Linked DNA regions of Homo sapiens: all the other regions are linked to region 4. The links are contacts of gene promoters, found by promoter capture Hi-C in blood cells and fetal thymus (Javierre and others, 2016). All regions are on one chromosome and are shown on one strand. The core of a region is centred on a gene start or on the middle of the fragment in contact, and the rest is flanking DNA. Distances in the headings are between cores, read along the strand shown.

Region 1 (2,700 bases), core at 86-2,585, 310 kb after region 4:
ACCTTGTGATCCGCCCGCCTCGGTCTCCCAAAATGCTGGGATTACAGGCGTGAGCCACCGCGCCCGGCCGCCTGGCGTAATTTTTGTATTTTTAATAGAAATGGGGGTTTCACCATGTTGCCCAGACTGGTCTCGAACTCCTGATGTCAAGTGATCCGCCTGCCTCCGCCTCCTAAAGTGCTGGAATTACACCCGTGAGCCATCGCGCCCGAACCCTATTGTAAATTTTAAGTCTCAGGCGTTTGCCAGCGGCACGCCAGAGAGTATAGCCTGCGCGGAGGCCCAGAAACCAAAGAGCGAGCTCATTCCGGGATTGGAGAGAAGTGTGAGCAGAGGGAAGTAGAGGGATCGGGGAGAGGAGGGGCAGGACCCACGCATTCGGCCCTTTGCATTCAGCTTCATTCAACTAGGAACTTTTTCTGCAAATCAAGGAAAGCTTCCCGGAGGAAGTGGTGCCTAAGCTGTGCTCTGATTCACGTTTAGAAGCTGACCAGACAAAGAGAGGTGGGCGTTCCTGGCAGGGGGAGGGACTTGGCAAAAACCAAGTGGCTTGAGAGGGGTTGATGGTTTTAAAAAACTTGGAATGATTATGTCAAGGGCTAGGGATTTAATGTGTTGACGACGGACTCCTATTCCTCACTTGCTTCGGGACCCCAGCTATGCCCTTCCTCTCTCTGGGCCTCTCACCGATTCCGTTTTTCCCCCAGGTAATGAGCACAAGCTCCCTTTTTCCTCCAGACTCCCCCCGGGTTGGGAGGATCCACCGAGTGGACGAGGAGTGATAATTCCTTTGAGCCAATCGTTGGTGCCTGAAGCCCCGCCTTCTTCCCTACCCGTGGGCCAATTGCCGTGTTCTCCTTGAGGCCGGCCGCTTGGCGAGGGTGGGCCAAAGGCTGCGTGACGTCGCTTCCGGATAAACCAATGGCAGCGATTAGGAGGCGGGTCGTTTTGGTGATGGACAGGTGTTTCAAGACGCCCCTTTAGCGCGGGGCTCCCCGGGAAGCTTTGAGGCGGTGCTGGGTGTAAAGGGGAGGGCATTCCTGGTGGATTTTGCCCAATCACCAGTCGCGCTTCTTGCAATAGACGGGCAGTTTTCCCCATCCCGGGTCGACTTGAGGGGGCGGGATTCTGGACGCCAGAGTTGGCAAACCCCTGACCTATGATGGACGTATTCTCTAGCCAATTACTAGACGGTATTCTCAGACGGGCCGCCTCCATTGCCAATGAAATCTTCCAGCGGGGTCGCGGTAGGCGGGCCGTGGACCCTCTGGTATAAGGCGGTCCCGGGGGAGTGAGGAGAAAGGGGGGGTCTTGGCGGCCGGAGGAGGAGTAGGTGCGGGTGAAGATGGCGGCAGCCGAGGCCGCGAACTGCATCATGGAGGTGAGCGCTTGGAGCGCCGCCGTGGGCGGGAGGCGGCTTTGGGTCGGTGTTTCACGCCTCTGTGGTGGGGAAAGGGCTCTAAGTTGGCGATATGGGGTTGGAGGTCCCCCGCCGCACACGGGGGCGCCGCACGTTCCACATCCGGGGATATCGTTTGAGGTGACGGCTCCCTAGCTTCCAAGGGCCTTCGGCATCCGGCCTAGCGGAGGGTCTTATCCCCCCTCCCACGTGGAGGAGGGCTGGGGGCGCTTCCGGCCAGGCCCCCACGTGGCCGCTGCGCGGTGGGTGGGGAGGGGGTGTGCCGAGTCCAGTGGCCCGGCGGGCTCCACGTGCGGGACAAAGGCCCCGCCCCCGGCCGGGGAGGGGCGCCCAGGGGGGCGGGGAGGGGGTCCGACCCTCCTGACGCCCCCAGCCCTCCTCCCCGGGGACCTGGGCACACGCCGTGGGGTGTGATCGACCTGGGGCCCTCCACGATGTGGGGAGTCTCTTGGGAGGAGCAGTGCTTCTCAGCCCTTTACCAACCTCCTTCCGAGCTCCGGGGGCATCTGTTGGGATATCGGACCCGGTTTTGTGCGTTCTGGGTTAGGGACTGGAGGAAAACCAAGAATGGGGTCCCCCGCCGACCCCGTTTCCCCTCCCAGAATTCTCCCCCTCGCCCAGGGCTTTAGGAGTTGGGGGATGGGGCATGCCCCTGTGACCTCCCTCTGGGTGGTGGTGGGGCATCTAGATAGAGATTTTCCCATTAATAGGCGCCGTGCACCCCCTTGTGGCCATTTCTGGGTGTGTGGGAGGGACATCTTTTTCATGGGGCGTGTCCTGAAGCCCACCTCCCCTCGGATTTCTTCCTGGCGGGCGGAGGGAGGAGGGTATGTCCGCTGGGAAGGAGTTGTGGGAAATATGTAGGCTGAGAGCTTTACCCTACTGGAGCCGTTTATCTCCCCCGGGTCTTTGTGAGGGTGCGAGATGACCTCCTTCTTCCTGAAGCCCTGTGCAGGGTCCTGAGCCCTGGGGTCCTGAGAGTGGGTGCCTGAAATGGTTTCGAGTGAGGTTTGGTTCTCGTGCAGCCATGTGGGGGAGGTTTCAGTCTTGCGTTTCAAGCCCTCTGGGGCTGGGGTTGTCTGGCGGTAGTTTTCAGTGGTATTGAGAAATAGGCCCGAGTGGGAAACCCCCTCAGCACCTTTCTTCTTATAGGCATCCCCGCTAGCTTGGGAGAGCTGGAGGGAGGGTGCTTGGAGCCTAGTAGGTCATGGCCTGTGACGTGGCCCTTCTTGGAGACTTGGATAGTGGTCACATCTGGAAGAGATGTAATCTGATGGGGC
Region 2 (2,700 bases), core at 27-2,526, 370 kb before region 4:
ACTAGGGACACCAGCATGCAGGGCTCTGCCTCTCCCATGACCCTATCCCAGACCCAGGAGCCCCAGCCCCCAGCCTCCTCCCATCCTGGAGCCCAGGCCCTGGCGATACCCGGCTGGGTGTTCACGGGCCCCCTCTCCTCCTGGGAGACACAGTCCCTTTCTCCTCCAAGACCCAGCAAAGCAACCCCCCAGACCCTGCTCTTTGAGGTGTGAGATTGGCTTGTTCCTGGGGATTTCAGCCCCAGCCTTCTCCAAGGCCAGAACCTCAGCTTTCTGAAGCCCAAGACACAGAAATGCAGGCTCCTAGCCCCTCCCATCCTAGGGCCCAGCCTCTGACTAACTTAGGACTTCCCAGCCTTCCCCTATTCCAGTACGCATGTGTCCCAGGCCATGGGCTCCTCTACTCCTAGGAACTAATAGCTCAGGCCCTCAGCTCCTTCAAAGCCCAGGCATTCATTACAGTCTCCAGCCCGTCCCATCTTTATTCTTAAGCAGCCAGATCCTCAGGTCCTCCCACCGCCGCTCAGGCCTCCTATCTCCCAGTCAGCTCTCTCTCAAATCTGGAGTTTTATCCCCTAGACCATGCTGTTAGGGTCATAGGTCTGAAACCCCGGCAGCTTCCCAGGTTTGCACGCAGAAATCCCATCCCCCCATCCCCTTCCCTGTTCAGGACCCAGGTATCTAGTCTCTCGGAAGCCTGCCTCCAGGACCTAGGAGTCTCATTTTAGCGCCCTCTTCCCTAGGACCCAGAACCCGGGCTTCCAGCCTCCTTTCATCTTAAGTCAAACGAACCATCCCTCTCCCACCCACCTCCGGCTTCCCAGCCCCTCCTCAAGGACACAGCCTCCTTGCCCAGGTCACAAGGGTTCCCCTAGTAGCCCCGTCCTCCTACAACTCAGAGTTCCGGGCCCCCATCCACTACTGTCCTTCTCGTCAAGGGCCCCGACGCCTGGCGTGCTCACCCTTGTTAGCCACCTCCCAGGCCACTTCGAAGAGCACTGCGTTCTCCAGGTCGAATTCATCCTCCCAGTCCTCCAGTCCTGGCAGTGAGGACATGGACAAAGTGCGGTTTAAAGGCATGGCTGGCGCAGGAAGGGGGGCTCCGGGGATCTCCAGGTAGGGACCCCGGAGGTGTCTAGGGAATGCACCAGGTAGGGTGCGGGGCCGAGTAGCTGGTGCCCGACGGGAAGCTTGCAAGACGCTCGGCTTCCTATTGCAAGACCGCACCCCTGCCCCGAAGCGTTGGGACCTAGGCAGAAGGAGGCCGCAGCGTCACTGAGCCCACTGGCGCCCCTGCAGTGAAACCTCGCAGCCGCCAGGAGGCGGTGGCCGCCCCCCCCAGCCAGCGCCATTGGCCCACGCCCGGGGGCGGGGATTTCCGCGTGTCCTCATTGGTGGAACGGGTTGGAGTCGCTGTGTCCCGGCCCCGCCTCGGCCGTGAGACCTCCAGGGGGCGGAGCTTGCCGCTGCGCTTTACGGAAACGAGTGGCCTTCAGCTCTGTCAATCTGGAGCTGGAGGCCTCAAAGTGGGGAGGAGGAGGAGGGTGGGATAAAGAGGAAAGGAGCGTGGAGGACGTGTGGTTACTCAAAGAACAGCTAAGAATTTTGCAATCGGCCTGAGCGGGGCGGTGGTGGGGCTGAGCAAAAGGAGGAGGAGCCAGGAGACATTGGGAATGGACCCAGGAGTTCCGGACGCCCGTCTTCCAGCGCAGCCTCGGTGGGAGGGCGGGGCATAAAGTCCCGCCACGCCCCCACAATATTTACATATTTATGAGGAACCATCGAGATCTTTGAAGAACCAGCTAGCCTAGAGGAGCCAGAACATCTCGCTCCTCGCGCGTTTCCGTTTCCGCTAGGACTCTGGCAGTTGGTGAGCATCATGGCAACCGTTGTAAGTGTGGGTGCATGGAGGGTGAGGAGCGAGCTAGCAGTCTCGAGTTTGAGAGAGGAGGATGCTGGAGGCCCTGACTCCTGGGTCTGAGGGAGGGGGGATCTGGGGGTTCAGACTCCTGGGTCTGAAAGAGGAGGAAGCTCGGCCACCCAGATCTGGGGGAGAAGGGGACATGGGGGCTGGACTTCTGGATCTGAGGCGGGGAGGGGGCTGGGATCCCAGAATCTCGGGTCTGGCCCCATCATGCTATAGGAACTCCAACTTTCAAAATCATCTTGGCGCAACGGCCGGTTCCGCAGTCCTTGGCGCCAGTGTGTGATGAGGAGGGTTGTAGGACCTTGCGCTTCGAGCCATTTGGGAGCCTTGGATTGTTAGTGGTGCCAATGGCACTTGAGTTCCAAGCTGGAAGCACAGGCAGGTACCTGTTCAGTGTGTCTGAGAGCGCGAGGGCGCCTAGTGAGCCTTTAGTGGGAAGAAATTGTCGAGGAACAAGAGAGTCTTAGTGGAGAGGACTGAAGGATTAGGGACCCAGAAATCGGGATCTTGTCATGCTACCGTTTTGGCCATTTTCATATTTCCAGTATTTCACACGGGCTACGTCTCAGTGTAAATGCTCAATAAATTATCACTTGAATATTTGAATGAATGAATACATGTGAATGAAGGAGAGGCCAGGAAACTTGGCCTGGCACCTGCTCAATTACCTGAATAAAGAAGCGATTTTGGCCTGGCGTGGTGGCTCATGCCTGTAATCCCAGCACTTTGGGAGGCCGAGGCGGGCGGATCACTTCAGGTCAGGAGTTCGTGGC
Region 3 (2,700 bases), core at 140-2,639, 300 kb before region 4:
TGCCTCAGCCTCCTGAGTAGCTGGGACTACAGACTCAAGCCACCACGCCTGGCCACATTCCACAATTTAGAGAAAGGTCACAACCTGGAATCCTAGGGAGACCCCAGTTCACCTCAAAACTGCCACTAAGGAGGTAAAACGCTGCCCCTCTGAGGCAGGCTTCAGTTTCCCTGTGTGTGAAATTGACCTGGCGCTGGGAGAGGCTGGTGGAGGCGCGGATTTTGCAGTTTCCCTACAACATTCTGGAAGCCTGTGGTTCTGGGAAAGGGTGGCGTGGAGAAGACTGGGAAACAGTCAGTAGTTACCAGACCTGTCAGCACCTCCTCCGCCTCGGAGCTCTGGGGCTGGGAGTCCCCAGGCTTCGGGGGGCCCCTGTGGAGGACACAGGTGGCCCCCTCCTTCCTGACATCTCAGGAGAGGGAGGGGGCAACCACCTAGGGGAAGAAAAGAATAGACAGGTTATAGAGGCAGGTGGGGAAGGGGCCAAATCCCTGAACAACCCCTTCCCAGAGTTCCTCTTCAAGTGCAGGGTACCCAAGAGTCAAGGCCCCGCCCCCTTTCCAGAGGCCCCTTTTCTACCCAGGTGATGGCTCCTGGCTGGGATGGGAAGCAGATGGAGGGAGGGGAAGGGAGAATAGGGGAAGGGAGAGGCAGTGGATGAAGGAGGCTGGAAGAGATTACATCCCCCTCGGCCCATTCATCTCCCAGATGGGGCGGAACTGGCCTGGACACCCGGGTCCCTGAGGGCCCACACTCAAGAAGCCCTGGTTCCCCAAGCTGCTTCCTGGAATGTTCCCTCCTCACAGGACAGGCCAGGGCCCGCCCAAGACTTCTGCACATACCTGGAGTGGCTGCCTGCCCTGGCTCCTCGGTACAGGAAAGGGGAAGGGTGGAGAGTGAAAGGAGCCCAGGCTGACCCAACCAGGACCGCCTTCTCCCTCAGACCGAGTAGTGCAGACCCCAGGGCCTCCACCTTCAGACCCAGGAGTTCAGATCCCCAGCGCCCTCCTCCCTCAGACCCAGGAGTAGTCCAGGCCCCCAGCGCCCTCCTCTCTCAGACCCAGAAGTCCAGGCCCCCAGCACCCTTCTCCCTCAGACCCAGGAGGAGTCCAGGCCCAGGCCCCCAGCACCCTTCTCCCTCAGACCCTGGAGTCCAGGTCCCCAGCGCCCTCCTCCTTCAGACCCAGGAGTCCATGCCCCCAGCGCCCTTCTCCCTCAGACCCAGGAATCCAGGCCCCCAGTGCCCTCCTCTCTCAGACCCAGGAGTTCTGGAATTCAGGCCCCTCCTTCTCGGATACTAAGAAATGCAGACTCCGGGTTCCTCATCCTCCAGATTTGGGTTGGGGGTTCCGGACTCCGAGACCCCTCAGGGGAAACCGGCTGCATATCTGGGACACTTCCCTCTTGCCTCAGTTTCCTCCGCCAAGCCCCGCCCCGGTCGGCCCCGCCCCCGTCCCTCCCCACCCGAGGGCAGGGCGACCAGGACGCCGGAATCCCGAGGGAGGAGGAGTGGAGATCTTACCTGGGGCGCCCTCTTCGGCTCCCGCGGCTGCCCTCCGCCCGGCAGCAGCTCCTCCTCCTGCTCGCTGGCTGCAGGGACGCTCGCTGGCCCGCCGGGTGCTAGCTGCTCACGCTCCGCAGGGCCCGGGTCGGGGGCGGGGGCGGGGCGGCGCCGGGCGGCAGAGGAGGGGCCGGGGGATCCTGCCTTGCACTCGCGTGCCGGGACCTTGGAAGCCAGGCCTGGCTCGTTCAACGCGGCCGCCTTGGTCACAGGAGTCCCAGTTTCCAGCTGCCTCCTCCTTTGGACCTAGCAGTCCAGGCCCCCAGCCCCTCCTCCCTTCAGACCCAGGAGTCCAGGCATCCGGCCCCTCCTCCCTCAGACCCAGGACTTGCGACCCCAGCCACCTCTCCCCCCAGCCCCAGGCGCCTGAGTACTAAGCCCACAGTTCCCCCCACCACCTCCCAACCCCGCCCCGTCTCAGACTCAGGAGTCCAGCCCCCAGCCTCCTCCTCCATTAGCCCCAGGAGTCTGGGCCTGAGATTCCTTTGCCGTCTTTTGCCAATTGCGTGTCAATCCCGGGGCAGATTCCCACCCTCTGCTCTCCTCCCCACTTCCCAGGAGCTCCACGCCAGACATTAACCAGCTGGGCTTGGGCAGTGATAAGGCCCCAGGCCCGGGGAGACAGTGGATGTGGGGGCTCCCGCATACTCCTCTCCCCTGGAATTTCCTGGCTGGGGACCGGGGAGAAGGTCTTGTCCTGAGCTCAGATAAGAGACGTGCAAGGTATCATAGGACCAGAGATAGACAGATGTGTCTTAAGAACAATCAGCTACCTTGAGAAATGGTGCGCGGTGACATGAAGGGAGAGATAGGGAGAAGACATGGAAAAGTGGGGAGAGACCAAAAGAAAGAGGGGGACCGAGACTAGAGAGAGTGGGGGAGGGCAGGAGCCCAGAGAGAAGACAGAGGCCCAGAGAGCGTGAGGGCAGACCCCCCCACCCCCCCGAGAAGGGGACAGAGCCCCTGAGAGACCCTGAGAAAGACAGGGATGGGACCGGAGCCGGAGTGTCTCAGGACAGTCATGAGGGCAGCGGGGCTCCTCACCCCACCACACCTCTACCCTGAGACTCCGCTCCCCTCCGCCTGCGCTATTTTCAGAAGGAAAACTGACACCTGCCTCGAGGGTCATCCCACACCCC
Region 4 (2,700 bases), core at 201-2,700:
GGGACAGAGACCCAGAGAGAGAGGGGGACAGAGACCAGAGGGAGGGGGGGACAGAGACCAGAGGGAGGGGGGGACAGAGACCAGAGAGGGGGACAGAGACCCAGAGAGAGGGACAGAGACCCAAAAAGAGAGGGAGACAGAGACCCAGGGAGAGGGGGAGACAGAGACCAGAAAGAGGGGGACAGAGACCGGGGGGGGGGGACAGGGACCAGAGAGAGGGGTCCAGAGGCCCAGAGAGGGAGACAGAGACCCAGAGAGAGAGGGTGACAGAGACCCAGAGAGAGGGGGACAGAGACCCAGAGAGAGAGGGACAGAGACCCAGAGAGAGAGGGGACCAGAGACCCAGAGAGAGGGGGACACAGACTCAGAGAGAGGGGGACAGAGGCTCAGAGAGAGGGCAACAGAGACCCAGAGAAAGGGAGACGGAGACCTAGAAAGGGCAGGGACAGAGACTCAGGGCAGCAGCTGAGGCCGAGACCAGGAGAGACCCACAGAACCACAAGCTGGGGGACAGGGGCGCCCTGCCATCAGAAGAGCCAGAACAAAGGGCCCAGGCGTCCCCTCCCCCAGCTTCCCACAACCCCCATCAGGGGAGGGGCTTGCCGGCCAGGGCGACTCCCCTCCGGCACCGGGCCCCGCCCCTCCCCTCCCCCGTGCGCCGTGGGCTCTGATCCAACTCAAGTTCCCAGTGACTTTCCGGAGGCCGGGAACAGGGAAAACTTTTTCCAATACAGTCAGATCCCGCCTCCCCGGAGGCTCCATGTCCTCCACAGCTTTCCCAGGACCCCAGAGTCCAGGCCCCTATTCCCCTCCTCCCGCCGACCATAGCAGACAAAGACCCCAGCCAAGCCCAGTGGCGCTGCGGCGTTCAGGACCCCCGTAGGCCAAAATCCCAGCCCAGCCCTTCCCCATGTGGCCAGACAAAGGGACGGTGGAGCCGGGTAAGAAAGGTCCCCCTAATTTCCCGCCCCAGACCCTAAACCTCCAAAGAGGCAAGACTTAAGATCCAGAAAGCCCCGTAACCTCCCCTCGGCCACCCCAGAGGCCCTCCCTTCTCCGTAAGAAGGACCAAATGCCCCCCAGATTACACAAGGGGTCCTTCTCACTCCAAAGTGACACCGCCGCAGACGCACGCCCCACACCCCGCCAGCGCCCTTGGCCCGCACCCGCTCCTGCGCGCACGCCCAAACTCAGACCCAGCCGCAGGCACCCTAACTCCGGCCAGAGTTCCCACTCCTCACTGAGGCTCGGTCACGGGAGCAAATTCGGGCCCCCGGGCAAAAAGAGGGCTGCGAACCATTCAGAGACGGTCCCGCAAACGCACGCCTCACCTCCTAAGAAGCAACTCCCCACCCCAACTCACACACCCCAAAGCAGGATCCCCGACTCCCGCCGGCGCCTTCCTACCTCCCGGCCTGGGGCTGGGGAGCCGCGGGCGGGCGGGGCGCTGCGAGGGAGAAAGTTGCCGGGAGCTTTGTTTGGGAAAAGTGGGAGGGACCGGAGGGGGGGGCGGGCCCGGCCGGCGGACAGCGGGAAGGGGGATCCGACGGTGACAGTTTGGGGAAGGATTTTTGCTTTGGGAGAGATTAGTCTATCTCGGGGCTGGTAGGAACTCAGGATTTGGGTGCTTGGGAAAGGAGGGGGATTGGGGGTTCGGACTCCAAGTCGGAGGGAAAAGGCTGATAGGAGCCAGAAACCCCTGATCTGAGGGAGGAGAGGCTGGGGGCTGGGACTCCTGGGTCTGGGGGCTGGGACTCCTGGGTCTGGGAGAGGAAGCGGCTGGAGAGAGATATGGGCTCCTAGGTCTGAGAGGGGACGGGGCTAGGCGCCTGGAATCCCGGCTACCCTCGTGTTTGTGTATTGGGGGTGCGGAAGTGATACGAATACAAAGAGTCTTTACTGTTAAGCCCTGAGGTTTTTTTTCTTTTTTTCTGTTTGGTTTTTGGTTTTTTTGTTTTTTGTTTTTTTTGTTTTTTTTTTTTTTTGAGGATTGGGGTCTGGGGATGGGTTTTGACTGATTCCTATGACGACCTGGTTTCCTTGTGACCTCACCACAGTTAAGAGTCGTGGGCAGGACCACCGGGAGTTTATTGGAGGCCCACGTAGGTGCAGATTCCTCATCTACAGGCGCTAGTGGACTGGAGACGGCTGGCGGCTGTCCCGGGACGGGGAAGAGAGCTTTGGTGCCTGAGGGAAGATGGCTTAGGGCCCGGTCCCTTAAGGGTGAAAGGCTGCGTGTTCAAAATTACGGGACTAGAGGGGGCGGGAGTCCGGACCTGAGGTCCTCAGGGAAAAGGAAGTCTGATTCTGGGTTCCTTGGAAGATGAAATATAAGACTGGATTTAGGGTTTCCGGAGACAACGGGACTTTTTAGTGGAGCGGGAGCGGGAAAACCAGAAGGGACACGGAGAAAAGGTTCCGAAACAGATACACAATTAGAGTGAGAGCTAAAAGGGATGCTTGTACTCCGGTGTCTCCAGTAGGAGGAGCCTAGGACTGGAACTTGGGGTGATGAGGGCAAGATCTGGGACGCAGGGGCGTGGTCCAGTGCAGGGGCGTGGCCCAGTGCAGGGGCGTGGCTTTCAGCCAAGGGGCGTGGCCATTGCGATTGGGCGGGACTCCGAAACGAGGGCCGCAATCAGAGAACACCGCCAGGACTTCCAGGACTTGGTCTCCAGGACTGAGGTCAACTGACGTGGG
Region 5 (2,700 bases), core at 54-2,553, 460 kb before region 4:
GGTTGCCCAAGAGAGTCCCTCCTTCCCCCATCCTGCCCCTATCTCAGCTTGGGTTCTGGGCACCTGTGAGGTCACAGGAGGTGCAGAACCTGAGCCTGCTCCACCAGTTATAGGGCCCTTTCTCCTGGCACTGGCCCACAGAAGCCGGGACCCAGAGATCCCAGGTCCCTCCTGTCTCAGGATTCAGGAGTCTGGGGCCCCCAACCCCTTCTCTTTCAGACCCAGAAGTCTGCACCCTAGCCCCATCCCTTCAGGACACAGGAGTCCAGGTCCCCAGCCCCTTCCTGCAAGGCCGATGGTGCTGAACCTGCAAACATGGTTATGAAGCCAGAGCCGAGTGCACGGGGTCCCCAGCCCTTTCCACCTCCACCCCTACCCATCTGTTTCCCTACTCACTCTCTCATCAATGTGTCATTATCCTGAGACATTCTGCAGAAGCAAGAATGAGGAGTCAGGATCAGAACCAACATCCCAATGGATCCTGCCCACCAGCACCTAATCTTTAGCCTTATTTATTTATTTATTTATTTATTTATTTATGTATTTAGAGACAGCTGAGCCTCGCTCTGTCGCCCAGGCTGCAGTGCAGTGGCGCCATCTCGGCCACTGCAACCTCCACCTCCTGGGTTCAAGCGATTCTCCTGCCTCAGCCTCCCGAGTAGCTGGGACTACAGGCGTCCGCTATTCTGCCTAATTTTTTTGTATTTTAGTAGATACCGGTTTTCACTATGTTGGCCAGGCTGGTGCCGGACTCCTGACCTCAGGTGATCTGCCCGCCTTGGCCTTCCAAAGTGCTAGGATTACAGGCATGAGCCACAGTGCCCGGCCTGATCCTTACCTTTAAATTTGCTTCCGGACCCAGGCAGCCCGAATCCCAGCACCCACTCCTGTCGGGATCTAGTAGCCTGTTTCCAGCTTCCCACGGGGGTCCGCAAGTCCGCTTCTCTCTCCCCCAAATATCTAATTCTCCAGCACCCAGGCATCAGAACTCAGGACTGTGCACTTCAAACACCCAGCCCCCAGCGGCCTAGAACTCCACTGCCCACCTGCCTGGGATCCGGGAGACTTGTTCTCCTCACCAGGTGCCTGGAGAGGCTGCTCACATTGATGCCTCGGTACCTTGCCTCTCTGGCCAATCTCTAAACATACCTGATCCTCTCTTTGGAAGCTGGGGACCTAATCTCGGGATATCTGCGAAATAGGGAGGAGAAGAAAGACGGCTCAGAGGGAGGGAGGATTCCCTCTGGGACCTGAACTGGTCCACTCCCTTCTGACCCTCCACTCTCCACTTCCAACAAAGTAACGAACTCGGTCACTGATGCAGCCAGGCAACCCTGCTCCGGGGGTTCTGAACACGAATGCCGTGTGGGGGTTCCTTAAAGAGACCAGAGACCGGCCCGGCGCGGTGGCTCACGCCTGTAATCCCAGCACTTTGGGAGGCCGAGGCGGGCGGATCACGGGGTCAGGAGATCTAGACCATCCTGGCTAACATGGTGAATCCCCGTCTCTACTAAAAAAAAATATATATATATACACAAAAAAATTAGCCGGGCGTTGTGGCGGGCGGGCGCCTGTAGTCCCAGCTACTCGGGAGGCTGAGGCAGGAGAATGGCGTGAACCCGGGAGGCGGAGCTCGCAGTGAGCTGAGATCGCGCCACTGCACTCCAGCCTGTGTGACAGAGGTAGACACCGTCTCAAAAAAAAAAAAAAAAAGAGAGAGAGAGAGCGGGAGACCAGAGACCTCGCGGCCTCACTGTACACATCTCGCTTACAAGAAACTTAAAAGAGGCGGGGCGCAGTGGCTCACGCCTGTAATCCCAGCACTTTGGGAGGCGGAGACGGGGAGGCAAGATTGCTTGAGTCCAGGAGATCCAGATCCAGACCAGCAACACAGAGATTTTTTTTTTTTTTTGAGACGTAGTCTCACTCTGTCGCCCAGGCTGGAGTGCAGTGGCGCGATCTCGGCTCACTGCAACCTCCGCCTCCCGGGTTTAAGAGATTGTCCTGCCTCAGCTTCCTGAGTAGCTGGGATTACAGGCATGCGCAACCACGCCTGGCTAATTTGTATTTTTAGTGGAGGCGAGGTTTCTCCATGTTGGCCAGGCTGGTCTCAAACCCTTGACCTCAGGTGATCTGCCTGCCTCAGCCTCCCAAAGTGCTGGGATTACAGGAGTGAACCCCCAAGCCCGGCTTGACATCCGTCTCTTTAAAAAACAACAACAACAAAGTGTGAGAAGTGTGAAAGACAGAACGTTAAAAAAAAAAAAAGGCTAAAAAAGAATTAAAGATTTAAATATTTGTATTAAAAATTTAAAAAATATACATTAGCCAGGCATGGTAGTGTGGCCTGTGGTCCCATCTACTTGGGAGGCTGACGCGGGAGGATTGCTTGGGCCTGGGAGGTAGAGGCTGCAGTGAGAAGTGATTGCGCCACTGCACTCCAACCTGGGTGACAGAGCAAACCCTGTCTCGAATAATAAGAAGAAGAAGAAAGAAACTCATAAGAAAGGCTATGCAATTGCTACCGCGCTATAACTTCCAGGCACTTCGTGGGGCGAAAATAAATGGGAAAACTACAGCTCCCATGAGGCGAAGGGGCCACGATGCCCGCGGAAGTTATTTTTCCCCCGGCCGGCAGGGAGTTGTAGTTATCTTTGAAAGCCTTCTCTCTCTTTTGGCATAGGCGGGAAATGTGGCGTC

Evidence for each region. Contacts are between HindIII fragments. The CHiCAGO score rates a contact against its expected background, and 5 or more counts as called.
Region 1: a contact is called between the fragment with the promoter of PRMT1 here and the fragment with the promoter of TEAD2 in region 4, in 10 of 17 cell types (naive CD8 T cells, naive CD4 T cells, total CD4 T cells and 7 more). The highest score is 15.7, in naive CD8 T cells.
Region 2: a contact is called between the fragment with the promoter of GYS1 here and the fragment with the promoter of TEAD2 in region 4, in 4 of 17 cell types (M0 macrophages, endothelial precursors, M1 macrophages and 1 more). The highest score is 8.0, in M0 macrophages.
Region 3: the fragment with the promoter of NTF4 here is called in contact with the fragment with the promoter of TEAD2 in region 4 in 16 of 17 cell types (total B cells, total CD8 T cells, M0 macrophages and 13 more); the score reaches 12.8 in total B cells.
Region 5: a contact is called between the fragment with the promoter of TULP2 here and the fragment with the promoter of TEAD2 in region 4, in 5 of 17 cell types (naive B cells, total B cells, naive CD8 T cells and 2 more). The highest score is 6.3, in naive B cells.

What each region holds. Positions count from the first base shown.
Region 1 is chr19:49,675,936-49,678,635 of GRCh38, forward strand. It overlaps PRMT1 (protein arginine methyltransferase 1), which reads left to right and starts at 1,336. Exons shown (of 11, transcript NM_001536.6): 1 at 1,336-1,381. The coding sequence starts at 1,346. RefSeq lists enhancers at 821-970, 975-1,706 and a silencer at 1,551-1,830. The HindIII fragment of the contact is 22,690 bases long and covers 1,002-2,700 here.
Region 2 is chr19:48,992,033-48,994,732 of GRCh38, forward strand. It overlaps GYS1 (glycogen synthase 1), which reads right to left and starts at 1,277. Exons shown (of 16, transcript NM_002103.5): 1 at 963-1,277. The coding sequence starts at 1,080. RUVBL2 (RuvB like AAA ATPase 2) reads left to right here and starts at 1,855. Exons shown (of 15, transcript NM_006666.3): 1 at 1,855-1,891. The coding sequence starts at 1,880. RefSeq lists enhancers at 834-973, 1,664-1,753 and a silencer at 1,184-1,543. The HindIII fragment of the contact is 2,230 bases long and covers 1,189-2,700 here.
Region 3 is chr19:49,063,429-49,066,128 of GRCh38, forward strand. It overlaps NTF4 (neurotrophin 4), which reads right to left and starts at 1,390. Exons shown (of 2, transcript NM_006179.5): 1 at 311-1,390. The HindIII fragment of the contact is 7,079 bases long and covers 1-2,700 here.
Region 4 is chr19:49,360,966-49,363,665 of GRCh38, forward strand. It overlaps TEAD2 (TEA domain transcription factor 2), which reads right to left and starts at 1,451. Exons shown (of 13, transcript NM_001256660.2): 1 at 1,368-1,451. It also overlaps a transcript of DKKL1 not described here. RefSeq lists enhancers at 1-535, 536-1,244. The HindIII fragment of the contact is 6,430 bases long and covers 1-2,700 here.
Region 5 is chr19:48,897,441-48,900,140 of GRCh38, forward strand. TULP2 (TUB like protein 2) reads right to left here and starts at 1,304. Exons shown (of 13, transcript NM_003323.3): 1 at 1,150-1,304; 2 at 397-429. The coding sequence starts at 428. RefSeq lists an enhancer at 699-1,514 and a cis regulatory region at 1,049-2,048. The HindIII fragment of the contact is 14,951 bases long and covers 1-2,700 here.